3 separate regions of the Homo sapiens genome follow, and regions 2 and 3 are each linked to region 1. Evidence: promoter capture Hi-C in 16 types of primary human blood cells and fetal thymus (Javierre and others, 2016). All regions are on one chromosome and are shown on one strand. Each heading gives the region's core, a stretch centred on a gene start or on the middle of the fragment in contact. The rest is flanking DNA. Distances are from core to core; before and after follow the strand shown.

Region 1 (4,054 bases), core at 225-2,724:
TACAATGGACCACTACTCAGTCATAAGAAGCAATGTATTAATAGCACTTGCACTGACCTGGATGAGATTGGAGACTATTATCCTAAGTGAAGTAACTCAGGAATGGAAAACCAAACATCATATGTTCTCAATGATATGGGGAGCTAAGCTACGATGACACAAAATGTATAAGAATGGTACAATGGACTTTGGGGACTTGGGGGGAAGAGTGGGAGGGGGATGAGGGATAAAATATTACAAATATGGTGCAGGGTATGCTGCTTGGGTGATGGGTGCACAAAAATCTCACAAATCACCACTAAAAACCTTACTCATGTAACCAAATACCACCTGTACCTCAATAACTTATGGAAAAATAAAAATTAAAAAAAGAATGAATCAGGAGAGGGAGTGAATTAAAAAGTTACTCATCAGTAAATTATCATTGGTTTACAGAAACCACATTGATTAGTAATTAGCTGTATACTGTTAAATTTTAGGGTTCAGTTAGTCTAGAACCTACATAGCAAATGGCTTCAAGAGGTAAATTTCGTGCAAGGTGGCAGTGAGGCATGACTCCTGTCATATCTCTCTCATGAGTCCACTCTGGACTTGATAGTTTCAAGGCACTCACATTCCTCAAATAACAGTTTTTTTTTTTTTTCGTTCTCAGCACTCCATAGATTTATGGCTGTTTGTTAACATACTATTTAAGCAAGGCCTGTAAGCCACTGCCATGAAAGAGATAAATACATTTGAACTGAGTTCTCTCCTGAGTGATGGGTATAACACACATTGATAAACTGCTGCTTTTTCTCTTGTTTCTCTGCCTTTTGTTTTCAGGACAGTGTCTCTACTAAGAATCTATGAGGACAAGAAAACATCATATATTTTCTGTGCTACAATATAAAATTCATGAAGCCTGTTTCTGATTTTATATCACTTCAGGCTCCCTTTTGCCTAATCAGGGAGATTACAAAATATCACTGACATCTGCCCAATATTAGTCTGGATGCAGTAAGAATGTTTCATCACCTTTGCAGACTGATTTCAGAATGTTTCATTTTGCAGTCACATTCCTTAACAATGTTCATGGGTTTTGTTATTTACTATGTTACCCTTCATATCTAAACCATATCCATCCAATCAAACTTTTGCTTACTACCTAGGACACTGTTCAACACATGGATTAAGGCTTGCATAAAATAAGCAGCCAATGTAAAGGTTAGTTAGGGAGCACTTAATTTAACCAAGTTCTCTAAATAGATGTCTTTTAGGAGATAAAAAATTTTCTATTTTGCATGCCAGAATGAATAGGAATCAGACAGAGAAATTTTATGTTAGAAACTGAAGAAATGATCTAAGTATTCTTGTCAAAGTTCTCATGAATGGTTTTCAATGTTTCTCAATTCCTCTTTTGTTTTTTTTAACCCCACGTATCGAAATCACTGGAAACTTTAGTTGTAATTGTGACTTCTTCTTTTGAGGTACACTTAATGTTGGAAGTCTCTTAGTCCTATAAGAGTGTGTAGCAGTTTGTCCCTGAGCTCTAGCTTCTTTAAATGAAGCTGAGTCTCTGGGCAACATCTTTAGGGAGAGAGGTACAAAAGGTTCCTGGACCTTCTCAACACAGGGAGCCTGCATAATGATGCAAGAGCAGCAACCTCAAAGTACAGGTGAGTATTTCCTCAGTTTCAGAGGAAAGTGGAAGTGTATGGTGAAATGAGATCACCTGGAGAGAAGAAGTAGCCAAAGAACAGATTGAAGAGCTAGTGATTGGACCAATATAGTAGACTCAAAGGAATTTGAAAGAAAGAGTAATTCTTCAGAGCCAGAGCCATAAGCACTTGAAAGAATAAGAAAGCAAATATTTTTTGGGAGGTTTGTACCAGATTTTATTGATAGTTTAGGGAGACAGAAAAGATTTACATGATAGAAGGTAAACAGGGAAATAACTGATTATTGGATGTCTGCTCTTCAAAGTCTTTTGACTAATTTTGAAATCCAGGAAGCAGTACTCTTTCCAATTACCCTAAGTTTTTTTGTACTTGCTTTTCTAATTTTTTTGTAAGAGAAAAGCTTCCCATTTTTAATGCATGAAAATTTGACTTTAGCTTCAACCCTTTGCATGTCCATCAATAATGTTTTAAAAAAATTTTTATTAAAATTTTTTATGGATACAAAATAGTTGTGCATGTTTATGGGCTCCATGTCATATTTTGACACAAGAATATGATGCGTAATGGTAAAGTCTGGAAAATTACATTATCCATCACCTCAAATATTTATCATGTCTTTGTGTTTGGAACATTCCAAATCTACTCTTCTAGCTATTTTGACATATGCAATAAATTATTGTTGGGTTAGGCTCAGTGGCTCACACCTGTAATCTCAGCACTTTGGGAGGCTGAGGTGGGTGGATCACTTGAGGTCAGGAGTTAGAGACCAGCCTGGCCAACATGGTGAAATCCCGTCTCTAATAAAAAGACAAAACTTAGCTGGGCATGGTGGCATGCACCTGTAATCCTAGCCACTCAGGAGGCTGAGGCAGGAGAATCACTTGAACCCAGGAGGTGGAGGTTGCAGGGTGCCAAGATTGCCTCATTGTGCTTCAGCCTGGGTGACAGAGTGAGACTCCATGTCAAAAAAAAAAAAAAGTTAACTACAGTTATCCTGCTGTGCTAAGGGACACTAGATTTTATTTCTTCTAGCTAATTGTATTTTTGTAGGTACGAAACAACCCTTCTCTATCTTCTCTTCCCAGTTAACCTTCCTGGCCTCTGGTAACCACCATTCTATTCACTACCTCCATGAGATCAATTTTTTTAACTCCCACATATGAGTCAGAATATGCAATGTTTGTCTTTCTGTGCCTGGCTCATTTCACTTAACACGATGTCCTCTGGTTCCATCTGTGCTGTTGCAAATGGCAGGATTTTATTCTTTTTTATGGTGGAATAATATGCCATTGTATATATTATACTACATTTTCTTTATCCATTCATCTGTTGATGGACACTTAGGTTGCTTTCATATCTTGGCTACTGTGAATAGTGCTACAATAAACATGGGAGTGCAGATATCTCTTGGATATACTGAAGAAACCAAATATCAATACAGAGATATGAGAAATGGGAGACAAAAGTGATGTTTTGAGAAACGAAATCAATGGAAACATGTAATAGTTTAGAAGAAAGAATAAAGACATGGAAATTCCAGTTGGTTGAGTGTATGTTTTACCTGTATTCTTTTGGACCACAGAGCTACTACCTGGTTATTTATTCTGAGGGAGTTTGTAAGCTGTCTTCTTGCTTTAAGTTTTTAACTGCTCTGAGGTTCTTCATCTAGTTTGTTCATTGTTGTAAGCTTCCTGGGGATTTTGGCTCCCTGGCCCCCTGGTAACTGCATTTGTTGTCTTCCTGATTGGACAGAGAAAAGAGGCTGGTTGTCCCTGAGACTCTGGTCTGTGGCTGGGATTTCCATTGCACTCCTCAGTGCTTGCTTCATTGTGAGCTGTGTAGGTAAGTTCTTCACTGAGGTGCATTTTCCTTGCTTCCTTTCCCTTGAATATTCCATACAGGTTTCCTAGGATATATTCTCCTTTGCCCCATTAATACGTCAGCTCTTACTTGGAATGCCACACTTTCCTTGATTTCTCCTTTTCCCTTTGTTTTTCTCCCTCTATCTTTTGAAAACTGAATTCTTGTAGATGTACTTTACCTGGTTTTATTAGCATTTTCTGAATCATGGCCTCACATATCCATGTTGTCCATTGTAGCCATCATCTAAGACACCATCTTTCAGGACTGGATTCACTAGTAATTGTGTGTTCCCTGGTGACAAAACTCTTGTATTGGGAGTGCAACTCTAATTGCTGTCATAATTGTCATATTCTATATTAGATTCTTTGATTCATGTGCAGATCCTTTCCAATGTGAGAGGAAAAAGTATTCAAATGAAATGATGGAGATAAAGAGGATAAAATATTTCTTCCCTGTTCTGCTTGCCTCCAAATACATGTCTCAAGTTCATTGTGTGAGAAGTCTTAAAGACCTTTTTCCTCTCCGATTCACAA
Region 2 (3,862 bases), core at 121-2,620, 340 kb before region 1:
AATTATGAATTATATGGAAGTCTCAATTCCAGCTCCCTGCTTAGTGCTTGTCCAAGGCTTTGTTTCCTCATTTTTTTGTGTATTTAAATCCAAACCCTTAGCCATTACTGCATCTAATGATTTTCTACTCCAGTTAGATGACTCTCAGCTCATGAAGGTTACCTCAAGTTGCATCTTTACCTGTTGTCCCATGTTGCTATATTCTGATTCACTGAGGACCCAATAGCATTTCTCAAGAATAGACCAATTACTCGCTGAGAGGGAATGATTTCCTCTGAACTATCCTACTGGCCTCCTTTGAATTCTCCTACCAATCTCCAGGTTGGTTTGCTTTAGGCTCCAATCTGCATGGATTTGCCAAAGAGGGTTCAAGCACCGCTAGTTTATTAGGGCTAAGTGCAGACTGTCTGTCTACCTGTGGCCTGGACCACCTGAACAGCCTTTTCAGTATGTCACCAAATCCTGGAAGCTTTTCGATTTTCTGGCAAATATGTTTGAACACCCAAATGTGAAATATATTGCCTTAAAAATCCAAAGAGGCCTATGAATCCTGCCTTTCAAAATGGCACATTATTTGATATTTTGGAGGGGATATTTAAGTGCCCCAGACATCAATCAGAATCAACTGAAGGGCTGGTTAAAACACCAATTTTTGGGCCCCATTCTCAAAATTATGGATTTAGTACATCTAAGGTGGAGCCTAAGAATATGCATTTCTAACAAGTTCCCAGGTGATGTTGTTGGTTTAGGACCACACTGAGAACCACTGCCTGATAGACCAGGACTTCAATGGCATGAGGCTTACCAAGGCATCTAGGGTACTGTATTGTCCTGCTTTCCTTGTAGCATCTGTAGGATATCATCAATGGAGTGAACCAGCAGGATATCTTGTAAAACGGTGAGATGTTTAAGTTTTCTGCAGGGTAAATGGTAGGCCAGATTGAAAGAGTTATATAGATCTGAAGAGTTATATAGGTCTGAAGATGATGAAGGTATATTGTTTCTGCCAGGAGAAAAGCAATTTGATGATGATTTTTTTGCTTATTTATTAACTGGAAGAAATAATATCCACCAGATAATATACATATATGTCATATATATATATTTAATTTTTTCTAGACAGAGTCTTGCCCTGTTGTCCAGGCTGGAGTGCAGTGACACGATCACAACTCACTGCAGCCTCAACCTCCTGGGCTCAAGTGATCCTCCCACCTCAGCCTCCTAAGAAGCTGGGACTATAGGTGTGTGCTACCATGCCTGGCTAATTTTTAATCTATATATATATTTTTTGAGACAGGGTCTCACTCTGTCACCCAGACCGGAGTGCAGGTGTGATCTCGGCTTACCACAACCTCTGCCTCCCAGGCTCAAGCGATTCTTCTGCCTCAGCCTCCCAAGTAGCTGGGATTACAGGTGTGCACCACTACTGCCTGGCTAATTTTTGTATTTTTAGTAGAGACAGGATTTCACCATGTTGGACAGGCTGGTCTTGAACTCCTGACCTCAAATGACCCACCTGTCTCGGCCTCCCAGAGTGCTAGGATTACAGGTGTGAGCCACCGCACCCGGTCTAATTTTTATTTTTTATTTTTGTAGAAGTGGGGTTTCACTATGTTGCCCAGGCTGGTCTCAAAGATCTGGACTCAAGCGATCCTTCTGCCTTGGCTTCCCAAAGTGTGAGGATTTCAGGCGTGAGTCATCGTACCTGGCCGTTAATAGGTATACATTAAGGGCCGAGTACTGTATTGACTTGCTCTAGACCTCGCATTTGGAAAGCAGCTAAAATTGGAGTCACCTCCTGATTAAATGTATGATCATCTACTCCCATTGTTTATGACCCATCTGTATTGGCAAGATGAGTGATTTAAATCAAGAATATAATAGGAATTGCTTATGCTTCAGTTTTGAATCCTTTGCTAGTGGTACTAATCTTTGTGATTTCATTATAGATGCTTTACTGCTTTTGATTTTATTTTGCTAGGAAGGGGAAGTTCAGGAGCTTCAATTTGGTTTTCCATCATAATGGACCTTACTTCACAGGTCAGGGAGACAGTGTGGGGATTCTGGACAACAGGAATTTGGGAAATAACCGGAGGGTGACTTCAGGCTCTCACTATACCTGCTGCTTTTGTGGGGATAGGAAACTTCTTGGACTTGGAGTGTTTGTGATGCTTTGGGCAATATATGGGTATCCTCCATATATTTCTTTATCAGTTCTTGAGATCACATTTTATCACAATCAAGCCTCTCGTTTTCACTTAGGAGACATAGCAAAGCTTGAATTCAACTGGATTTGCAATTTTTAACCATCGAGTCCAACTAAAACTTTGGCTTTTGGTCTCTTCAGCCTGCAGCTACAAGCAATAAAGAATTCTTTTAATATAGTTATAGAAATTCTAGTTTTCAGTTTTTTCCTTGGGTCAAGAATTTAGGATATATTGAGTTTGTTACTCTCTTCCTTTGGGTTATCCAGTGCCATAAGAAGCAACTATTCTACTCTACACTTCTTAAATTCTTTCCCTTGGGGTTGCTTGGGCTCTTCTTTTTTTTTTTGTTTTTGTTTTTTTTGAAGTGGAATCTCTCTGTTGCGCAGGCTGGAGTGCAGTGGCACGATCTCGGCTCACTGCAACCTCTGCCTCCTGGGTTCAAGTGATTCTCCTGCTTCAGCCTCTTGAGTAACTGGGATTACAGGTGCTCATCACCACACCTGGCTAATTTTTGTATTTTTAGTAGAGATGGGATTTCACCAAGTTAGCCATGCTGGTCTCAAATTCCTGACCTCAGGTGATCCACCTGCCTTGGCCTCCCAAGGTGCTGGGATTACAGGTGTGAGCCACCGCACCCAGCCTGCTTGGGCTCTTAAAGGCTTGTCTCCAATGGGAACTTTTTTTTTAGGTGACAATGTGTTTCAATTTGCCTATTTTGTCATTGCATGGCAAGGACTACCAAGTCCCATCTGTTAATACTAGTCGTGCTTTCTCTTTTCTCAGCTTCAACCAGATTGGATAATAAATCTCAAGTTTCCTCTATTTCACTTCTATAGCTTTCAAGTATTTATGGTACAATTTCTGAAAGCAAATGCCTGGATTTGCAGCTGTTGTAGAATATGAAGAGCTCTGTTTCATAAAGTGGGAATATTCTTCAAACATAAGGAGAATTAGATGCCAAAAAGAATGACAACCATTACTTGCGTAAACCAAAAAGTGACTGAGGCAGGTCTCAATTGATTTACAGGTTTATTTTGCCAAGGTTGAGGGCATGCCCAGGAACAAAACACAAATCACAGGAGCATCTGTGATTGGTGCTTTTTCCAAAGAAGGTTTTGAGGACCTCAGTATTTTAAGGGAAAAGAGCAAGCAGGAGGGGAAGGAGGAAAGGGGAAAAAAAAAGGCAAGGGAGAGTAGACAAGGAGGCAAGTGGTTACTTTCTTGTGAGGCTCTGGTTAGCACTCAATGAATCTACATTTTACATGTGAAAAGTGGGGGTAAAAGAAAAGTCATTTATGCATTCATCTGGGAGTAGACAGAGGGATGATTTCTGGTCTTGTTCTTGTCTTCTACCTGTGAAGATAAGCTAATAATTTACATTGTCAGGTTGAGATTCAACATACAATGGAATATTATTTGTCCATAAAAAAGAATGAATTACTGATTGCTGTGGTTTAAATGTGTCCCTCTCTGTATTAGTCTATTCTTGCACTGCTATAAAAAAAAAAAAAACCTGAGACTAGGTAATTCATAAAGAAAAAGAGCTTTAATTGGCTTACAGTTCTGCAGGCTATACAGGAAGCATAGCAGCTTCTGCTTTTTGAGGACACTTCAGGAAGCTTCCAATCATGGTGGAAGGCAAAGTGGGAGCAAGG
Region 3 (3,686 bases), core at 388-2,887, 410 kb after region 1:
TGAGGGATAAGAAAAGTCTTAGCCGGGCACAGTGACTCACGCCTATAATCCCAGCACTTTGGCAGCCTGAGGCGGTTGGATCACTGGAGGTCAGGAGTTCAAGATCAGCCTGGTCAACATGGTGAAACCCCATCTCTACTAAAATACAAAAATTAGCTGGATGTGGCCCCATCTCTACTAAAGATACAAAAATTAGCTGGATGTGGTGACATGTTCCTGTAGTCCCAGCTACTCGGGAGGCTGAGGCAGAAGAATTGCTTGAACCCGGAAGGCAGAGGTTGCAGTGAGCTGAGATCGTGCCACTGCACTCCAGCCTGAGTGACAAAGCAGCACTCTGTGTCAACAACAACAATAAACAAAAACAAACAAAAACAACAACAAACAAAAATTTTTTAGGCTGGACACAGCAGCTCATGCCTGTAATCCCAGTGCTTTGGGAGGCCGAGGCAGGCGGATCACCTGAGGTCGGGAGTTCGAGACCAGCCTGACCAACATGGAGAAACCCCATCTCTACTAAAAATACAAAATTAGCCAGGCGTGGTGGCGGGTGCCTGTAATCCCAGCTACCTGGGAGGCTGAGGCAGGAGAATCGCTTGAACCCGGGAGGCAGAGGTTGCGGTGAGCCGAGATGGCGCCATTGCACTCCAGCCTGGGCAACAAGAGTTAAAACTCCGTCTCAACAACAACAACACAACAACAACAACAACAATTTTAACTTTGTTTCAGAAAGATTAATCAGCCACTTGGTGTGTGAGATAATTTAGAGAGGAGAAACATTGGACTTGAAGAGATCAGGAGACTGTTTCCTTTATCTAGGTTAGGGGTAAGGGGAAATTGGGAAATTGAATGAGTGGTGTGGCAGTATGGAAAAAACAGAGGGGTAGAATTGTATGATAAACTCAAATCATAAAAAATTATTTTAGATTATAATGAAGAGAGTAGTCATTAATCTATGTATTCTGAAAATATTAAATATCTACCATGTCCAAATCACTTTGATGAGGCTACAGAAATAACTAAGAAAATATATTTCTTGTTCTCATGAAGATTATATTCTGATTTGTTGAAATTAGCCAATTTCACTGAAGATATAACATGTAAATCAGACCTGAAAGAATGAACATCTTTTAATAGGTTGCATGTTTGGTAAAAATGTTAAAAGCACCAAGTTTAGGCCAGGTGTGGTGGCTCACGCCTGTAATCCCAGCACTTTGGGAGGCCGAGGCAGGTGGATCACGAGGTCAGGAGATCGAGACCACGGTGAAACCCCATCTCTACTAAAAATACAAAAAATTAGCCGGGCACAGTGGTGGGCGCCTGTAGTCCCAGCTACTCGGGAGGCTGAGGCAGGAGAATGGCGTGAACCCAGGAGGCAGAGCTTGCAGTGAGCCAAGATCGCGCCACTGCACTCCAGCCTGGGAGACAGAGCAAGACTCCATCTCAAAAAAAAAAAAAAAAAAAAAAAAAAAGCACCAAGTTTAAATATGGTAATGACTTAATTGAAACTTAAAAAAATTATATGGTACTATGCCTCCCTGTTTCAGGGAAATTCTTGGCCAAAGATCACAAAATACTCCTTCTTGCTCGGTCCTGAATAATTATAATATATAATAATATTTTTGGAAAGCAGTGGGTGAAATGTTTACAACTCTCAGTGACAGGTATATGTCAGAATCCTTTTTCAATGAAATCCTTGGCTATCACAAGAAGTCATATATCATATATTACCCACACTGGTTTTTCAGCTGACAGTGAGGTCCCTTTCTTTGAATTGTCTCCATATGTTCAAGCAGTAAAAAACCTCCCTGGCTCCAGTCCACAAAAGGTAAACAAAAATTGTTTGTAGATGGTGAAGCTGCACAGATAGAACTTCTTCACAGCTTCACCAGGGTGGGTGACCTGTCTTCCTGTTTTGTAGGACAGTGATAATGTCGAAATAAGAATGTATTTTTCATTTGTGAGATGAAGAAATCGGGTTTTTTTTTGTAATAGATATTTTTTGTAATAGATATTTTACACGAGTGAGATATAACAATTTTGTTGAACACTTCATTCATTTTTCTTTCCCCTTGTAATTTATATGAATTATGTTTTCAGAATGAAACAGTTCAAATATCACTGTACCATGCTCACTTAGTGACAGTTTATCTGTCTTATTCCCAGAGAAATAAAAGATTGTCACATGGTATAATGGCTAAGAAGCCAGCCTGCAGGGAAGGACTTTCCTAGGGTCCCTTATACTCCTTCCAACTGTCATGTAGAAGATCATTACACAGTTAAATGACTTCATAGACTGCAATTTCTAGGGCTATCAAGTTACTACTGTTTCTCCCCCAAATAAGGAAGCTGTAAAATATATACTGAACAATTATCCACTTGCTTCTAGCAATAACTCATTCTGAAACTGTTGGTTTCTGAACATGAATTGATTAGGTTAACCAAGTAATCTGTGGATGTTCAGTAGTACCTTGTTGATGGTGATTTTCTATAAAAGCATGCTACTGGCTGGGTATGGTGGCTCATGCCTGTCATCCCAGCATTTTGGGAGGCCAAGGCAGCCGGACCACCTGAGGTTGGGAGTTCAAGACTAGCCTGACCAACATGGAGAAACCCCTTCTCTACTAAAAATACAAAATTAGCCGGATGTGGTGGCACACGCCTGTAATCCCAGCTACTTGGGAGGCTTAGGGAGGAGAATCACTTGAACCCAGGAAGCGGAGGTTGCAATGAGCTGAGATCGTGCCATTGCACTCCAGCCTGGGCAACAAAAGCAAAACTCCATCTGAAAAAAAAAAAAAGCAAGCTACTGTGATTTCTAGGCCAGCTTCTCCAGAGGAGGTGGGTATAGTTCTCTAAATACTTAAAGAAGTCATCATCCAAGCCAACTAACAACAACCAGATGTGTGGGTTATAGAGTTGTTCAAGGTTAATTCCAATGGCTCACAAAATGGTAAGTATACGTTTGGTTGTTTCCCTCAGGATACTGTAGTTGCTCTCCAAGCTCTTGCCAAATATGCCACTACCGCCTACATGCCATCTGAGGAGATCAACCTGGTTGTAAAATCCACTGAGAATTTCCAGCGCACATTCAACATACAGTCAGTTAACAGATTGGTATTTCAGCAGGATACCCTGCCCAATGTCCCTGGAATGTACACGTTGGAGGCCTCAGGCCAGGGCTGTGTCTATGTGCAGGTAAGTAGAGATCCATGAGAATGAGCGGACATTGGGAAGGAGAGTCGGAGAGCATCTTCCCCTTAGGCCTTCTCTCTCTCTTTCTTTCTCACTTGTAAGAAAAGTAGTTTGAACTGTACAATCTTTAAAGTTCTTTCCAAGTCTGATTTGGCTACCTATTTCTTCCTACCAGACGGTGTTGAGATACAATATTCTCCCTCCCACAAATATGAAGACCTTTAGTCTTAGTGTGGAAATAGGAAAAGCTAGATGTGAGCAACCGACTTCACCTCGATCCTTGACTCTCACTATTCACACCAGGTGATTAAAGCTGGGGTGCTGGTGGCCGGCAGAGCACCTGGTCATAGGAGCTGAGCTGGGACACTTGTGTGTGTGTGTGTCTGTGTATGTGTGTGTGTACGTGTGTGTGTGTGTGTGTTGGGGATGCAGAGTGCACTGAAGTAATAGGCTCACATGTGTTTTCTTCTTCCTGCTCTCAGTTATGTGGGGAG

Evidence for each region. The method cuts DNA at HindIII sites, captures the fragments that hold promoters and counts their contacts. A CHiCAGO score of 5 or more calls a contact.
Region 2: a contact is called between a fragment that was not itself captured here and the fragment with the promoter of CLEC6A in region 1, in 1 of 17 cell types (erythroblasts). The highest score is 5.6, in erythroblasts.
Region 3: a fragment that was not itself captured here is called in contact with the fragment with the promoter of CLEC6A in region 1 in 1 of 17 cell types (neutrophils); the score reaches 7.1 in neutrophils.

What each region holds. Positions count from the first base shown.
Region 1 is chr12:8,454,488-8,458,541 of GRCh38, forward strand. CLEC6A (C-type lectin domain containing 6A) reads left to right here and starts at 1,475. Exons shown (of 6, transcript NM_001007033.2): 1 at 1,475-1,655; 2 at 3,411-3,500. The coding sequence starts at 1,625. The HindIII fragment of the contact is 4,980 bases long and covers 1-2,056 here.
Region 2 is chr12:8,114,691-8,118,552 of GRCh38, forward strand. It overlaps a transcript of CLEC4A not described here. Among named protein-coding and RNA genes, the nearest start is that of CLEC4A, 7.0 kb to the right of the region's middle. The HindIII fragment of the contact is 1,807 bases long and covers 468-2,274 here.
Region 3 is chr12:8,864,863-8,868,548 of GRCh38, forward strand. It overlaps A2ML1 (alpha-2-macroglobulin like 1), which reads left to right. Exons shown (of 36, transcript NM_144670.6): 30 at 2,980-3,195; 31 at 3,368-3,495; 32 at 3,675-3,686. Among named protein-coding and RNA genes, the nearest start is that of A2ML1-AS1, 35 kb to the left of the region's middle. The HindIII fragment of the contact is 6,008 bases long and covers 1-3,686 here.